Linked DNA regions of Homo sapiens: region 1 is linked to region 2. The links are contacts of gene promoters, found by promoter capture Hi-C in blood cells and fetal thymus (Javierre and others, 2016). All regions are on one chromosome and are shown on one strand. Each heading gives the region's core, a stretch centred on a gene start or on the middle of the fragment in contact. The rest is flanking DNA. Distances are from core to core; before and after follow the strand shown. Region 1 holds the start of ZFP28 (ZFP28 zinc finger protein). Region 2 holds the start of ZNF585A (zinc finger protein 585A).

Region 1 (5,434 bases), core at 2,680-5,179, about 19 Mb before region 2:
GGAGGATTGCTTGAGGCCCGGAGTTTGAGGCTGCAATTATCTATGACTGTGCCACTGTACTCCAGCCTAGGTGACAGAGTGAGACCCTGTCTCTAAAAGCAAAAAAACAAAATAAAAAAATCAGGGACGAAGCACATTTTCAGGTATAAAAATGACTATTCTAACACTATACTAAATATCAAAACACTGGCCACAAGAGAACTTTAAGACTATATTCAAACATTCATCCACCAAATATTTTCTGTATCAGACATTAGGCAAAACTGCCCCAAATCCTTGCCTATGAAGTAAGGAAATGAGACAAGAGAAACTGAGATAAATTAAGTAAAATACATTTGACCTTCGAACAACATGGATCTGGGCTGCAAGGGTCCACCTATATGCAAATTTTTTCAACCAAATGCAGACTGAAAATACAATTATTGTCTGGGCGCGGGGAATCACACCTCTAATCGCAGCAATTTGGTAGCCCAAGGCGGGCGGTTGCCTGAGGCCAGGAGTTCGAGACCAGCCTGGGAAACATGGCAAAACCCCATCTCTACAAAAAATACAAAAATTAGCTGGGCATGGTGGCACATGCCTGTAATTCCAGCTACTTCGGAGGCTGAGATGGGAGCACTGCTTGAGCCTGGGGAGGTCAAGGCTGCAGTGAGCCGTGATGGCACCACTGCACTCCAGCCTGGGTGACAGAGTGAGACCTTGTCTCAAAAAAGATTATTTGTGGTATGGAAAACCTGTGTCCACTGAGGGCTGACTTCTCATATCTGCAGGCTCCACATGGCTGATGAATAAGTGCAAATTTTGGTATACGTGGGATTTCTGTATATAGTATGTTGAAAAGTACTACGAGGGCCAGGCACAGTGGCTCATGGCTGTAATCCCAGCACTTTGGGAGGCTGAGGTGGGCGGATCACTTGAGGTCAGGAAATCGAGACCAGCCTGGCCAACATGGTGAAACCCTGTCTCTAAAAAAAAAAAAAAAAAAAAAAAAAAAAAAAATTAGCCAGGTGTGGTGGCTACTCGGGAGGCTGAGGAAGGAGAATCATTTCAACTCAGGAGGCGGAGGTTGCAGTGAGCCGAGATCACGCCACTGTACTCCAGCCTGAGTGACAGAGCAAAACTCTGTCTCAAAAGAAAAGTACTAAAAGAAAAAAGCAAAGCAGGGAAGAGGGATGTGAAGAACAGGTAGGAGGCTCTGAAATTCTAGACAGGGTGAGCAGGAAAATGAGAAGGCGATTTTTCAGAAAGAAGAGAGTGATGTAGATGTCAGGGGTAACAAGGAGCCAGGTCATGTAGGGCCTGGTCAGTAACAGGAAGAGTTTTGGCTTTTATTCAGAGAAACCACTGGAGGGTCCTGAGCACAGCGTGACACAAGGTGACATGTTTGAATAGACCCCTCTGGCTGCTCATCGGGAAGGGGCTGTGGGGAGCGTGAGCAGAAGCAGGAGGTCACAGAAGCACAGTCAAGAAGCCCACAGTAAAAGGAGGACTTGGACCTGCTGCTGGTGATAGATGTGATGAAAACTGCCAGATTCTGCACATAATTTGCAAATAGAACTGACAGGATTTGCATCAGGACCAAATATGGAAGGAAAAGGCAAGAAATGAGCCAATCATGACAAGGCTTCCGGACTGAGTAACTGAGAGGATGAAACGGCCACTGACTAAGACTCAAACTGTGGGAGGAGCTGGTTTATGGGAGACTCTCAGGACTTCGGGTCTGGACAGGCTGTCTTGAGTTACCCATCAGACACTCAGGCAGAGGAGTGGAGCAGGATACACAGGCCGGCGGCTCAGAGGAGAGGTTTGGGCTCACAATGTGAATCTGGGAGGAGCCACCATGTGGGTAGGTTGTACAGACAAGGAACAGGCTACTATCCCCAGGAGACAGCATGCAGACAAAAAAAGAAAGGGCCATGAGCAGAGTGCTGAGGCACACTCTGTTCAAGTCACGGAGGTAAGAACTGTGGCAAAAACTGAGCAGTCAGGAAGATGAAAGTCAGATGAGTGTGAGATCCCAGTAGCCAAGGGAAAAAAGGGGGCCTATTGAAGGACAGGGATGAGCTATTTGAGGGATAGGTAGCCACCTGTTTTGTAACTGAAGTTTTACTGGAACACAGCCCATCCATTCATTTACATATTGTCTTTGGCTACTTTAGCTCTATAAGAGCAGAAAGGAGTAGATGCAGCAGGACTTTCAAAGCCTAACATATTTTCTGCTGTGGCCTCATCCAGCACAAGTTTGCCAGCCTCTGAGCTATTTCAAATACCAATGATAGTCAAAAAAGACTAAGAATTGAGCACTGCATCTGGTAATGTGAAGATCACAGTAACCCACTCAAGAGCAGTTTGGGTAGGACAACTGGAAGCTGGTTCATCTGTACATATATTTTTTGAGGCCTCAGTGGAAGTGAAATGGTTCATCTATTAATGAGCTAGCTATGATATTTATAGGAGAAGCCAACCGAAACAAACACAACTATTTACTGGCATGTTTTAAAGCCACAAAATCAAGTGGAAAAGCCTTTCATATTGCGCCTCCTCTCCCTAAAATGTTGTCTTTCTTTACTGTGCCTCCCAAACATCTTCTCTCCCTTCAAGGCAAGGCTCAAAAATCACCTCCTTGGTAAATAGGCCTACCCTTCCGCTACAGGAGGCTGGAAGCCAGGAGCGCCTTGTAGTCCTCGCTCATAATACTTGGCCCAAGGATGATCACATTCTAGAATCTTGCTTGTTTCCTTGACATTGGGTCAACAGGCTGTGAGCTCCAGAGCAGGGACTAGGGCTTAGCTATTGGTTTGCTCAGTGGCTGGCACAAAGTGGTCACCAAACAAACCATGTATAGCAGAAGAGTCTGCCGTGTTCCTCAAGGGGCACAATTCCTCCATCAGAGTCCCTCTGAGAAAAGCGGTACAAGGGAGAGGCTGAATCATTTCATCAATCAAGAATGAAGGCTGATTGGGATGAAGAAGAAGCAGGCATCGAGGCCCCGGGCAGTTTAAACTTTTCCCCGTAGCCCATCACTTCACTAGAACGTGAAGAAATAGAAACCCGCGCCCAAACAGGTCTCTTAAACTGAAAACTTTCAAGAAAATAAGCAACATTAAGTCCCGAAAAGCAAGACTGCATTTCAGAGACAAGAGATGAAATGCCAACTCACCTGGGACATGGCTTTAGGTTCAATTCCTGTCCCCACAGCCTCCAGCTTCTTGTTTCTCTCCTGGGGAAGAGCAGTGTCCCTGGAAGGCAGAGCTGAAAGAGAAAGGAGTAGCTAGAGACCAGGTCTACACCACAGTCCCAAATCACCAGCCTAGAAACGTCCCTTCCTGCATGAAAAGGTGGGATCAGATCATTACCCTGCCTAGGGACTGCCACAACGTGGAGATAGGTTTTTTTCCTCCCTGGGAGCACGAAAACAGGAAAAGCGTCTAGTTAGAGTCACCCTGGGAAAGTCAACACCCTTTTACCGCGGCTTGCTGCTCTGAATCAGTTGAGCTTCCAAATCTTCAGATTCTCCCACTCCACCAGCTTCAAAGACCAGGGGCACAGTTCTCCAGCAACTGGTCCCCGAGAGCCCAACCCCCTCCCAGATCTCATCCCGAGATGAATTCGTCCCTGTCCGCTCGGCCCCAAACACCTGTCACTCTCACCTCTGTGCCCAGGCCCCGTAGGGGCCGCTCCTCGCTGGCCTTTGGATGCGAGGCCATTCCTTGAGCGCGGCCTTCCCCGGGCAGGGAGGGCCAAGGTGGCTGGAGTCCCTACAGTCGGGCCTCGGCCCGCCCGGGGCTTTGTGCGGGGGGCGCCTCTACCCGGGAGCGGCGTCGGCTCGCGGACACTCGCGCTCGCCGCCCCCCGCATGTCACCCGAGGCCGCGCGACGCCCTTCCGACCGGTCCCTCACAGACCCACACCCCTGGCCACACCCGCCCGCCACGCCCAGCGAACAGCCCCGCGCGCGCTCCCCCATGGCCCGGCATCCACTGGGCCGCGCCGCGGAGCCGCCCCGCCCCCGGCCGCGCCCCGCCCCTCCCCACCCCTCCCCGCTGCCCCGCCCCGCCCCGCCCCGCCCCGCCCCGCCCCGCCCCGCCCCGCCCCGCCCCGCCCCGCCCCTCAGCCTAGAGAAGCCCGGCGCTTCCCACTTCCAGTGCGCAGGCAGCGCCGCCGGAACCGGGCGTGGCCTCGGCGCAATGCCCGCTGGGAAGCGTAGTCCCAAGCAGGGACGGATGCGGCGGCCCTCGGAGCTCAGGTTGCAAGATACGGTTTGGCCCCGGGCCTATGCAACGCCCGTCCGTCCTGCCCTCTGCGGGTCGCTCTCACTTGTCCCTGGACCGCAGCCGCCGCATAAGTGGTGGCCAACGCTGGGCCTGGGTGTGGCCGGAAGCAGAGGCCGCTCTGACTACACACCCACCCCCCAAAGGCTTCTGGGAGTCGCGCAGGCGCAGCGGCAGACCGGGTGAGGCGGGGCTTGCGGCGAGGGGTGGGACCGCAGGGCCGGAGTAAAAGGGTGCTTGGCTGTGACAGGTGCTAAGGGCCTGGGCGTCAGCTCCTTGCGGGAGCGTCACTGCCGACCGGGAAGGGAAAGGCAATCTTGGGGGCCTCCGGAGTCCGGAGGATCACTCTGATGGGTGATGTGTGTGGGCTAGGAAGGGGGATGTAGAGAGCTTGTGGGATTGTTTTGGGTGCCCCCTCACCTTCTCCCATTATCTCTGGCTACACGGGCCTCCCATCCTCCAAAATACCATTTTCCATTTTGTAACCTATGTATTTGCACGTCCTGGGTCGAAATAGTCTAACCCCAAATTTTCGTCTGGGCTGGCTCCTTTATGCCATTCACTTGTCATCGCCTCAGAGAGGGCTGCCTAACGTCTCAAAAATACCAGCCCTGGCGACCTCTTAAAGTTCCCTTCCTGTGTGAATCACGGTCTGAAGTTAGCTGATGGATTTATTCTTGAACATGTTTAGGACCGGTCTCTCCCCCAGGGGCCTTATCAGAACTGGAGAGCTTCATCCTGGGAGCCAAGGGCCTTGCTGGCTCACAGGCAGTGATGCTGTTACACCAGTCATCACAGATGCACTGACCTCTGCACGCCCAGTCACACTGCACGCCTGGTCTCCTTACTCTTGAATTGATTTCTTTCAGGTCTCCTGGCCTCAGTGATGGAATTAAGATGACTTCTATCTCTGAATCCAAGGGTGACTGAAAGCCGCAAGCTGCAGAAAGGACAAGGTCAGCATTTCTCTCAAAGCACTTCAGTCTCATAGAAAAGGCTTAGTTTCAGTCAGGTGGACCTAGCCATGTAATAGCTGTGGCAGACACTGCTAATGGTCTCTCTGGTGTCTATTTTGCACTCCTTCCACAGCAGAACATTGATGCTCTTCAAGTGGCCATCTGCCCAGCTTATAATACTCACCTCCCCAGTCTCCTTGTAAGGAGT
Region 2 (4,872 bases), core at 1,931-4,430:
TTACTAAAAGTCTTAAAGCTATGTTTTTAACATTTGAATCATTAATACACATAGGATTGGTTTTTGCATATGCTACCAATTCAATTTCTTTTATTGTTTTTGGCCTATCCAAATTTTCTTCCTATACATGGCAATTTTCATCTGTGTTTTCCTAGGAAACTTCCTATTTTATTACATTTTCAAATGGATTTCTCAAAATATCCTTAGAATTCTCTTGAGTTTTAAATCTTTCTCTCAGTAGTAATGTTCCTTTTTCTTTCTCATGTTGTTTTCTTTCTCTATTTTTTTCAAAATAGACTTTTTTAATTTTAATTTTATTTTTTTGAGACAGAGTCTTGCACTGTCGCCCAGGCTGGAGTGCAGTGGCGCGATCTCAACTCACTGCAACCTCTGCCTCCCGGGTTCAAGTGATTCTCCTGCCTCACACTCCCGAGTAGCTGGAACTACAGGTGTGCACTGCCACACCCAGCTAATTTTTGTATTTTTAATAGAGACAGAGTTTCACAATGTTGGCCAGGATGGTCTCGACCTCTTGACCTCGTGATCCGCCTGCCTTGGCCTCCCCAAGTGCTGGGATTAGAGGCGTGAGCCACGGGCACCCAGCCTTTAATTTTTATTTTAAGTTCTGGGGTACGTGTGCAGGATGTGCAGGTTTGTTACATAGGTAAACGTGTGCCATGGTGGTTTGCTGCACCTGTCAACCCATCACCTAGGTGTTAAGCCCAGGATGCATTAGCTATTTTTCCTAATGCTCTCCCTCCCGCCACCCCACCCCCAACAGGCCCCAGTGTATGTCGCACCAGGAAACCAAACAAATTGTGTGACTCGCTTTATTGTAGTGGTCTAGAACCAAACCCTAAATATCGCTGAGGTATGCCTGTGTTTGTATAATACTATTGTTATGGAAATAAAAGGGTCTCAATCCAGACTCCAAGAGAGGGTTCTTGATCTCATGCAGGAAAGAATTCCAGGTGGGTTGTAGAGTGCAGTGAGAAGAGATAGTTTATTGAAAGCTACTCCACAACAGAGTAGGGTGTCCTCAGAAAGCAAGTGGAGGAACATCTGTTAAGCTTTTCTTATATAGGGGTCTTGTCTATGTAAAGACTAAAGTAAGCTGTGCCTATGCGTGGGTGGCCTGACATTATGACAAAATTTATTATTCTATTGATTTAAAGAAAACTATCCCTGACATTTTAGTAAGTACATCAAAGTATAACTATAATGATCTTGAAAGCATTTATTGTTATGGGTATTGGACATCTGGACTTTCTGTTGTTCTAGGAGTTTGTCTTTGCAGGCATTACAGGGCTGCTTCCTTCGCTGTAAACACATTAGGACCATGAGTTGTGACTTGCAATGAATGTGCCTTGCTAGTGTCAAGATGGAGCTGAACTTAAAATGGTGTCACTCTGGGTCTCCTAGGTTTCATCTTCCCTAACACTATGACCACACCTGCTGTCTTCTTGATGTTTCCTTGTAAATGTTTTTAATTCCTTTCTTTTTAAATTAGAAATTTACTATGAAAATTTCACACAAATACTATGGAAGAGAACATTATAATGAGTTCTGTCTACTTATCACTCTGCTTTAACATTTATCAACATTTTCTTTTGCAATACCATATACCCCTTCTCAGTGGAGTTTTTTTTTTCTCAGTGGAGTTTTTAAAGCTAATATTATTCCACCCATAAATATTTCCACACGAATCCCTAAAAGTTAAGTCATCTTCTTTTTAACAGAGCTGCATTACTGACAAAATCAACAGTAATTCTTAGCCCCTTGGTAGAAATTGTGTGTTTACTAACGGACTTCCACAGATGTTTCCTTAGACCGTCCTTTCGGAGAAGAAAGAAAACCTGAGATCAGCAGAGTCTAATTCTCTAAACATATTTTTAAGCCGAGTCCCAGAGACAGACATAACTGGCCTGAAGGCATCCAGCATGCCCACATCAGAGTGTAGGTTCAATTCCCTGAAAACAAGTTTCCCACCTGCTGGAACTGAACACATTGGGTAGTAATTTCCCACCACTGTTCAGGTAGAACTTCCTGTCAGAAGCTGAGCTGTGAATCATGTTTAGGAGTTCACCAAGTGAAAGGAATTGTATCTTTACAACTCCTCATCCACACCCTCCAAAAAGGGGAGTAAGGAGGTTTCAGAATTTCCACAGAGGAGAAGCTAAGGGTCAGAGACTGCACTTAAAGCTTCATTGACATGGTAAGGCGATTGTTATTAATTATATTTTAACTTCAAGGTAAATAAAAACAGTCTTCTTTAGGTGCTTTTAGTAACACGTTGGCCATACTAAAGACTATTAGTGTTGTTATTATTGCTGCCTACTATAGTTGCACTTGAGGTATTTAGTGTGGAGGGTAATGGGTGATTCAAATCTCTATTCACCTTCCCACCCGACCCAGCCCTTCAGAAGGGGACGCCCGGACTTCTCCTCCCTCCTCTGGTGGTATCTCCCAGGAGAGGATTGTATTAATACTATTGGACTTCTACCCTATTTCCCAAGGCGGTTTCTCCCATTAAAAGTTGTACCACTCTTCCTGCAGCCTACTACTCATTCAGATGTCTCTCAGACTTTCAGGGTGGTTTCACTCAAGAGATGACTCCCCTAGTGACCTTTCCACCTTTTCCCTGAATGGCGTCTGTAAAAAATGGACTGTACTATCCTGATTCCTCCTATCATCTGCCTGTGGTTTCTCCCAGGATCCCCTTCACTTGGTGATTTTTCCCTGGCTCCTCTATTCCCTGGTAATTATTATCCTCAGTGTCCTGTATTCAGAAAGGTAACTTAGCTTTTCTAAATATAACATACAGCACCAGACCCACATTTCCAGTAACTTTCTCCTCCGAAATAGAAGCCTAGTCAGACAAGGGTCACACTCCAGCATCCTATGTAACTATACCTGCCTCGCTCTAGGAAACCCTGCCAGCGGCCAATTCCTCTGCTCTACGGAATGGATATGCTTTCAAAATGGCGGCCCACGCGAATAAACACCATAAGGGCGCGGCCATGTTCTCTGCCGGACAGCGCCACATTACGGAACCTGTGCGCTGTGTCTGCGCCCTGTTGACTGTTCGAGGAAACTGGCTTCCAAGTTTATTCAGAGCATGCGCCATATCAACAGCCTACAAAGGGGAGGTGCTAGAAGTCGGACCGGAAGTGGAAGTGGTCTTCCAAGGCTTTTTTGCCGCTGGTGTCAGGAGTATTTTCATATTCCAATACCGATAAATCTTTGAGGTGATTTTGGTTGATCACGATTGGGGTTTCTGTGGAGCCAGTAATAGGGGGTGTCGAGGTTGCCTGTGGAGTTAGTGATTGCGGTTTCAGGCTTCGGTGATGGGGTTCTGTGGCGTCCGTTGTTGATTGTGACGGATTTCTCAGGTCATTGATGGAGCTCTTTGGGATGAGTGATTGAGGTTTGGGGGTCAGTGATGGGAGTCTGTGGTCAGTGACAGAGCCTGTAGGGTCAGTTATGGTGATCGGTGAGGACTGTAATCAGCTTGCTTTCTAACCTGAGTTGAAAGTTCAGCTTTTTAATTTTCAGTCTTCTTTAATATAAAAATTCTCAAGTTTTGGTGAATCTTTGTATTAAAAATTGTTCAAATCTAAGTGGTTTTTTCTTTGATCCATGAGTTATTTAGAAGTTCCTTTTTAAAGTAATGTCTGTTTAATGGTCAAATTGAAAAATTGCTTTATGACCTAGTTCGTGGTCAGTTTTCATGAATGTCACATCTATTACATAGAAACAGTGTACTATGTTCTCTAATTGTATTGTTATAGATATTAATTAAGCATATATTCAAAAAATATATCTGTCTCCTCACAGATTATTTTGTCTGCTTAATTACAGAGGAAGGTAAAGTACTCAACTCTGGAAAGGTTATTTGTCCATTTGTCCTTCTTTTTCTGCTTTATATATGTGAAATTATTAGGAATAACTATGTGCACTTTTTTTTTTTTTGAGATGGAGTCTCGCTCTGTCACCCAAGTTGGAGTGCAGTGGCGCGATCTCAGCTCACTGCAACCTCTGCCTAGTGGGTTCAACGGATTCTCCTGCCTCAGCCTCCAGAGTAGCTGGGATTAGAGGCACCCGCCACCACGCCCAGCTAATTTTTTGTATTTTTTAGTAGAGACGGGGATTCACCATGTTGGCCAGGCTGGTCTCAAACTCCTGACCTCAGGTGATCTACCTGCCTCCGCCTCCCAGAGTGCTGGGATTACAGGCGTGAGCCACTGCGCCCGGCATATGTGCATTTTTAATACTTTATAGATATGACTAAGTAGCTCAAAATATAACAATTCAAGCTTATACCAACAATTTATAAAATAACTCATTTTCCCAGATGCTTTTCCAGCAGTGGATATTGTTGCATTTTAAAAGTTTTTAAAATTTTGAGGGAAAATTATATCTAATTGCTCCAATGCATTTTCCAGTTACTAAAGTTGGCATCTTATTTGGTTAATTGCCATTTGTTTCCTTTTCTGTGAATTTTCATATCTTTTGTCCTACTTTTTTTTGTGGTATATTTTAACATAAAGTTAGGAAATATCATCTAATCAAAAGTATCTGATTTTTCTGTTACAGAGTCTGTGTTTCCTCTCACGTGTAATAAGATCCCTCCCAGCCCACCACAGTGTTATACACATGTATACTTCTAAAATTTATTTTAATAGTCTTTGTGATTTAACAAATACACATAATTAAGTGATCAGTCCTGCTGGCATTTGCCTACTGAATAGTGTGTGATGGAGATCTAGTTTGTTTTTTTCCAGGTGGCCAGCCAGTTATATCACTGCATTATATCACTGCCATTTATGCAATGAATGTCTTATGCACACTCATTTGAATACCACTTTTATC

What was found. Contacts are between HindIII fragments. The CHiCAGO score rates a contact against its expected background, and 5 or more counts as called.
Region 1: a contact is called between the fragment with the promoter of ZFP28 here and the fragment with the promoter of ZNF585A in region 2, in 6 of 17 cell types (total CD4 T cells, non-activated CD4 T cells, naive CD4 T cells and 3 more). The highest score is 17.1, in total CD4 T cells.

What each region holds. Positions count from the first base shown.
Region 1 is chr19:56,537,443-56,542,876 of GRCh38, reverse strand. ZFP28 (ZFP28 zinc finger protein) reads right to left here and starts at 3,929. Exons shown (of 8, transcript NM_020828.2): 1 at 3,651-3,929; 2 at 3,161-3,252. The coding sequence starts at 3,858. ZFP28-DT (ZFP28 divergent transcript) reads left to right here and starts at 4,143. Exons shown (of 3, transcript NR_183967.1): 1 at 4,143-4,452; 2 at 5,140-5,226. The HindIII fragment of the contact is 11,931 bases long and covers 1-5,434 here.
Region 2 is chr19:37,171,003-37,175,874 of GRCh38, reverse strand. ZNF585A (zinc finger protein 585A) reads left to right here and starts at 3,180. Exons shown (of 5, transcript NM_001288800.2): 1 at 3,180-3,248. RefSeq lists enhancers at 2,954-3,248, 3,090-3,279. The HindIII fragment of the contact is 2,114 bases long and covers 2,205-4,318 here.